2 separate regions of the Homo sapiens genome follow, and region 1 is linked to region 2. The links are contacts of gene promoters, found by promoter capture Hi-C in human tissues and cell types (Jung and others, 2019). All regions are on one chromosome and are shown on one strand. Each heading gives the region's core, a stretch centred on a gene start or on the middle of the fragment in contact. The rest is flanking DNA. Distances are from core to core; before and after follow the strand shown.

Region 1 (3,072 bases), core at 180-2,679, 630 kb before region 2:
ACCTGGCCCTGGACTATTCTTCATGAGACAGGTATTTTTGCAGACTCCCCTGTGAAAAGAATGGAAACCTTGAGAATCTTCATTGTCCAAGGACTTCTGAGAGGTAGAACAGAGATAGAGAAAGGGAAAGAGAAGGAGAGAGAGAGAGAGAAAGAGAGAGAGAGTGAGAGCGAGTGAGCAGTGGTGTCATGTGGCATTTCAAAATGCCTGGCATTTTCCTAAAAGTACCCTGCCCAGTCCCCAACCCCCTAGCCATACAGCCCGACCCAGCGGGCTTGCAGGGTGACTGATTTCGTGAATGTCGGTTCTCAGGCTGCCAGGCTGCTGCTTCTCAAGGATGACCCAGACTTAGAGAAGTCTCTGGTGTCAGGCAGAGGACACTGGGTGGGGGACAGGAGGAACTGCTCAAAACAGACAGAGGCTCTTTGTTTGCTTTGCTTCTGTGTCAACTGGGCAACATTTGGAAACAACAAATATTGGTTCAGAGGCCCACTGCTTTCTTACCCACCTCCTGCTGGTCAGCTTTTCCAGCTTTCCTGCACGTACACACAAGCGCAGCTATTTCTTTAAGGGCCAACTCGTGGTTGAAATTTGAGAGTTTTGCCCTGTTTGCGGTGAAAGATTTGGCTCATGCTTGGGTTGGTCTAGAACTGGAAGCTTCCTTTATGTCCTCTATCAATCTCTTTCTCTTTCTCTTTCTCTCTCACCTCCCTCCCTCTCTTTCCTCCCCCACTAAATAAATAAAGAGAAGGTCAATATCAAGAAGGCAGCTGTGGTCTGGAGAAGGGCAAGATTTAGGAAGTTTGAGTTCAGGTCTCAGAGCTCCATGAATAAGGACCCATCATTTGACTGTAATGACCACATGTGATAAATGGAGGTACTGATCTTATCTTGCATGGCTGCCCCAATGATCTTGCCCCAGGACAGTGCCTGACACATACAAGGGGATAAAAACATGATATTTTCTTCCAGCTGAGCATAATCAAGCCAGTCCATGTCTAAGGATCTGCAGTTGGTACTCAGACCTCTCCCAGACTGACCAGCCCCTGTGCTGGCAAAGCCCTGGGGGCTGTGTGCTTTTGGAGAAATGGCAAGGCTGGGAGTCTCATGTCTGTCCCTCTCTCGGTGTGACCCCAGATGAGCTCCTTGGCCCCTGCATGTCCTGGTTTCCTGGGAGAGGCAGTGTCCCTGGTGGATGTGTACACTCTGGAACCAGACTGCCTTCTTTTGTATTCTGACTTTGCAGCTGACCTTGAACAAGATATCATCCTCTCTTGTCCTCAGTTTCCTTGTCTCATCTGTAAGATACAGATGCTAAAGCACCAAAGTCAGAGGGGTATGGTAAGTGCTCAGTGAAGCTCCCAGTAAATCTCAGCCATCATTAAGCTATTAAAAGGGACAGTGATTCTCCAACTCCAGAACATCTCTGGTATAGAATTAAAGAATATAAATGAGAGCACAGGTACAAGTGTCATGGACATGGAGCGCTGTAATGTTAACCTCTTACCTTCACATGCTCCTATAGACATATACAGGCATAGGCACCCCATACAGCTAGGGCCATGCACACATGTACACCCCAAAGCTGGCCTCACCCCTGCCTACCCCATCCAAGGAATGGCAAGCACGAAGCTCTGCTGTTGTCCTCTTGAGCAAAAGCCAAGGCCCTGGCCTCTCCATCTAGGTGTGTGTAGATGACGTGGGAGCACCAGTTCTCTATGTCTTGTCTGAGCTTCCTTCATATCCCATGAGGCTGTATATTTCCTTCCCAGCACCTGTCTTGGGCTTGGACTCAAAGGACCCTTCTGAGGACAGGGCATAGAGCTGGCTGCTCTGGAGAGGACTCAGCCTGGCCAGTAGGTAGTTGCTCCCTGCTGAGGGGCTCTGGCTAGGCTATGGGCCTGTGGCTGGAGGACTGGCCTCAGCGGGGCTTAGTCTACGAATGTAGATGGGCTCCAGAAAAGGAGAATCACTGACCATCTTCTTTCCATGCCCTGCGTTGAGCTTCCCTGAGTTTGTGGCATGGGCTCAACCTTTCGTAACTGCACTTCCTGCTCTCTGGCAGACCCTGCAAGCTTACTACAGGGCCTGTCCATGCATCAGCTGTATGTGTGCATGCTGCTCTGCTGGGTGCCTTCCAGTTAGCCTTGCCCCTGACTTTTCCTGCTCATCTCACATCCTTACCTCAAGGTCTCCAAATGAATCCAGACCACTGCCTAGAGCCTGCTGCAGGGGCAGTAGGAATATGGCCCTCATGCTAACAGTCTTCTTTCCCTATGGCTCAAGCACAAGGGGCCCGTGGACGGGCAAGGGGGGAGTAAGACAGGGCAGCAGTGGTCACTCTCCCTCGCTGGTGAGGCTGATGTGTTGGGAAAGCCAGACTTGACTTCTGTCCTCACTGTAAACAGAAAGCTTCTGTAGTGGACTCTAAAGTGGGAGGTATGTAACCCCTTTGCATATGAGATAATCTTTTGGAGTGTGGGAGAACATAATCTAACTTCCAGTTATATTTATTGTTATTGCAAAAGATTAACAAATTATCATTCATTCATATTGAATGTGTGAATTGGCCCTATCTCCCACCTGAGTCTGCAGTCATGACAGATGGAGCCTTTCAGGTGTCCTAAGGGAAGATGGGGTTCACCTCACAATGCTAAAGGTGAAAAGGGGAGTGCCGACCCTGCCCTTTGTTTTGGCATTTTTATTTCCATACTTTGTGGTTTGTATGTGCCCAGTTAAACGGATGTACAGATTAGATAATCTGGCTTTAACTCCAACCTTCACGAGATGCACACATGCCTTAAAAAGATTCTTACAAAGAAACTAGAATTAGGAGACAATTCTGACAACACAAAAACAAGTGAACAAAAATCAAATGACTGACCTGACGTGTCCACTAGGCTTGATATGAGCTTGGTCAACTAAAACATGAGACAGAATGAATGACCATCTGGTCAGGTTGGATAAGAAGTAACTTTTGGCAAAATCTCTGAAGTCTGGATTTACACTTCGTGGAAGGAATCTTGACCTTTCCCCAAGTATATTATGCCTTGAGATAATAATCCTGTATAA
Region 2 (2,875 bases), core at 348-2,847:
GCCTCTTCCAACACAAATCTCCAAACTGGGATCCAGGGAAAACTAAACAGAATCCACACTGCCACAGGTCCTGTGTGTATGGGCAGGGGTTGGGGGGGTGGGTGGGAGGAATGTGGCCCCTCCTCTGCCACTAAACTAGCCCTAGTGTCCTGCTTCAGTTTGGGCTATGGCATGTTGGCAGAGCAGCCATTCCCGATCTTTTCCCTCTCCCCACCCCAGTACTCCAGCTGCCCAGAGCTGGGGAGTGGGGGATGAGTCTGGAGGGCACCTCTGTACCCATCCTTCCTGGCACCCAGTCATGCGCCCCCCACACACAACGAGGGGTAGATGTGCAAGACTCCAGAGCTACCCGAGGCAAAGCAAGCAAATGGGATTCAATTCGTATGGGATTCAGTTCGCCCTGGAGTTTTATCTGCGGGCATTTCCTATGATAATCACTCTCTGGGCCGACTCCCACAGAGAAGGCAGGGGAGCGGCAGGAAGGAATGCGGAGCCTTCCTGACAGATTCCAGGCGCTCCATAGTGTGCCCGGACTGGGAGCAAGGAACATCTCCAAGGCCTCTCATCGCGAATTTGTCCCGGCCAAGCCCCTCAGATTCACGTCCTTTCAGACATCAAACGCCTGGGCCTTTACAAAAACCTGCTTCCGCGCCCCCGGCCGCGAACCTCTGCTGCACTCGCCCGCTGCGCTCTCTGAAGGCCGCCTTTCTAAGCCAGCGCGCGTCTCCAGCCTTGGCCTGGGCTCCTGCTCGCCTAAGGAACCAAAGACAGTCTCCAAGCTAGGAGGTTCTGGCACCCCAGCCAGGGCTCCCGCCCCACCACGAGCCCGGGCGGACCTGGAGCACCGGTGGCCGCTGGTACGCCTGGGGCGAGCCGGTGAGGGTAGCCCGAGGCCCGGAGAGGTCTTTAAGCATCGCGGGTCCGCCTCCCTCCCTCTCGAGCCCTCTTTGTTTTCCAAATACTCTAACGCTGACGTCACCGGGCTGGACAGCAGGCTGCATTCTTTCTAAGTGAGGGCCAATTCGTGGCTCCAGAGAGGATTTTCCAAGGAAGACAAAGAGGAATTCTTGGACTAGTTGGGGGCAAAGGCACCTGTAACCCCCACCTAACCAAATCAGCCCGCAGGACCCTGCAACTTGAGCTCCAAGCGGCGCCTCCATCCCTGTCCCCCGCCACCCCCACCCCCGCCGACCTGCAACCCGAAACACTGTGGCTGTTGTCTCCGGAGTCGGCCCTCTCCCCTCTCCCCCAGCCCCAAGAGACCCGCGCGTTTCTAGAGCCCCGCAAAGCCCAGCGCGCTGCGCTCCCTGGGCAGAGCGGCCCTTGCCAGGCACTGCGGCTGCCTCGAAAGGGCGCACTGCGCCCCGAGGACGCTCGATCCTCGAGGCTCCGACTCCCGGAAAAGGCCGGGTTGCGCCGAGACTCCAGCTTTGGCTGGGGCACGTTTCTGTGGCCTCGCGCGCTCTCCCGAGCGCCGAGCGGCCTTCCTTACCGCTGCGGCCCGAGGGTGCCCAGCGCAGTCAGACACCACAACCTCCGGCTCGGCCCAGCTCAGCTCGGCGGCGAAGATGTGTTCTCGGCCGTGGCGCCGACGCTCTGGCTGTTCGCGCCCCAGCGCGCAGCCCCAGGGTCGGCCCGCGCCGGAGGCGGCTGCTATGCCAGGAATGTGAGAGTTTCAGGTTCCCCCTCGGGATCAAAGCGAACCACAAATAACCTCTCAGCGCACCGCCCTCCTCCGCCCTCCGCCTTCTCCCGCTCCCTCCTCCCGGCCCCCGCCTTCCTCCGGGGAGGCGGCGCTGCTGGCCGAGCGCCGGCCCGGCCCCCGAGCTCCGTTCCTCCGCGCCCAGCGCCCTCCAGGCCGCGGTGTGTCCGCCCCTGCCCCATGCTTTGCCTTCGGAGCTGCTGGAGACAATTTAATCCAACTCTGCCCATTATCGCCTCCACTCCCAGTCGCCGACCCGCTCTCACCCTTCATCCCTAAACCCATCGACGGGACGACAGCAAGGGCTGTACCACGCGTGTCCTGGGGTTGCTGCGGGAGGGGACTCCGGCTGTGTGTGTGTGTGTGTGTGTGTGTGCGTGTGTGTGTACCGGGGGAGGTGGGAAAGGGAGGAGGGACTGCAAAGACATCCATATCCTCTGGGCTGGGACAGTGCCCCGGGCTAAGTGAATGCTTCCAGCCACAGAGCCTCTTTCCCCTAACCCCCGCTGTTTTCACCCCCAGCGGCAACCTTTGAATGCACTTTTGTTTACAAACACCTTCGCCAGCTATTTTACGACCGTCTCGACAGGAAGTGTGAATCTGGGTTGGAAAATCCGGTCAATTTGACCCACCTACCCAACTGAATCACCCGCCGCCAGGCGCTCTGTCCAGTTCTTCCCCAAGGTGATAATAGGCGCCCCTTTACGCAGAGTGCAAGGTGTGCCACCGCTGGCTTTTCGCCCAGTCATCCGATTCAGCCCTGCCAAGCACCCTCCAACGGAGTTCTGTTATCATCCCTGTGTTGTAAATGAGGACACCAGGGCTCAGAGAGCTTAAGCAGCGTGCCCAGAGTCACACACAGTGAGAACCAGGTAATCAACCACTGGGCTGCTTGGTTTCTCATTCTCAAAACCCCTCCCTGGCTATCAGAATCCAGGCTCCCTAGATGGACAGGGCAGACACTGGGAGCCCTCCTCTCTCCACTTACCCTGTCCTTGCTTTAGTCTCTTCTTTACCTCCCCCTACACCCCTGCCAGCCAGGGGCTTTCCCCTGTACCCACTTCTGTGGCTCCTGCATGGAATCCTCTCCTCTGCCCCCAGGACACTTCCACTGCTAGATGGAAACCCCTTCTTCAGAAAGCTCGCTCTGACACATGCTGTCCCCGTTCCCCA

The links. The method cuts DNA at HindIII sites, captures the fragments that hold promoters and counts their contacts. A contact is called where the count stands out against the background at its distance.
Region 1: a fragment that was not itself captured here is called in contact with the fragment with the promoter of AMOTL2 in region 2 in 1 of the 25 tissues and cell types used here (hippocampus).

What each region holds. Positions count from the first base shown.
Region 1 is chr3:133,742,315-133,745,386 of GRCh38, forward strand. It overlaps a transcript of TF not described here. Among named protein-coding and RNA genes, the nearest start is that of TF, 2.5 kb to the right of the region's middle. The HindIII fragment of the contact is 3,003 bases long and covers 1-2,931 here.
Region 2 is chr3:134,372,850-134,375,724 of GRCh38, forward strand. AMOTL2 (angiomotin like 2) reads right to left here and starts at 1,598. Exons shown (of 10, transcript NM_016201.4): 1 at 1,493-1,598. RefSeq lists enhancers at 858-1,657, 1,658-2,457, 2,458-2,875. The HindIII fragment of the contact is 13,073 bases long and covers 1-2,875 here.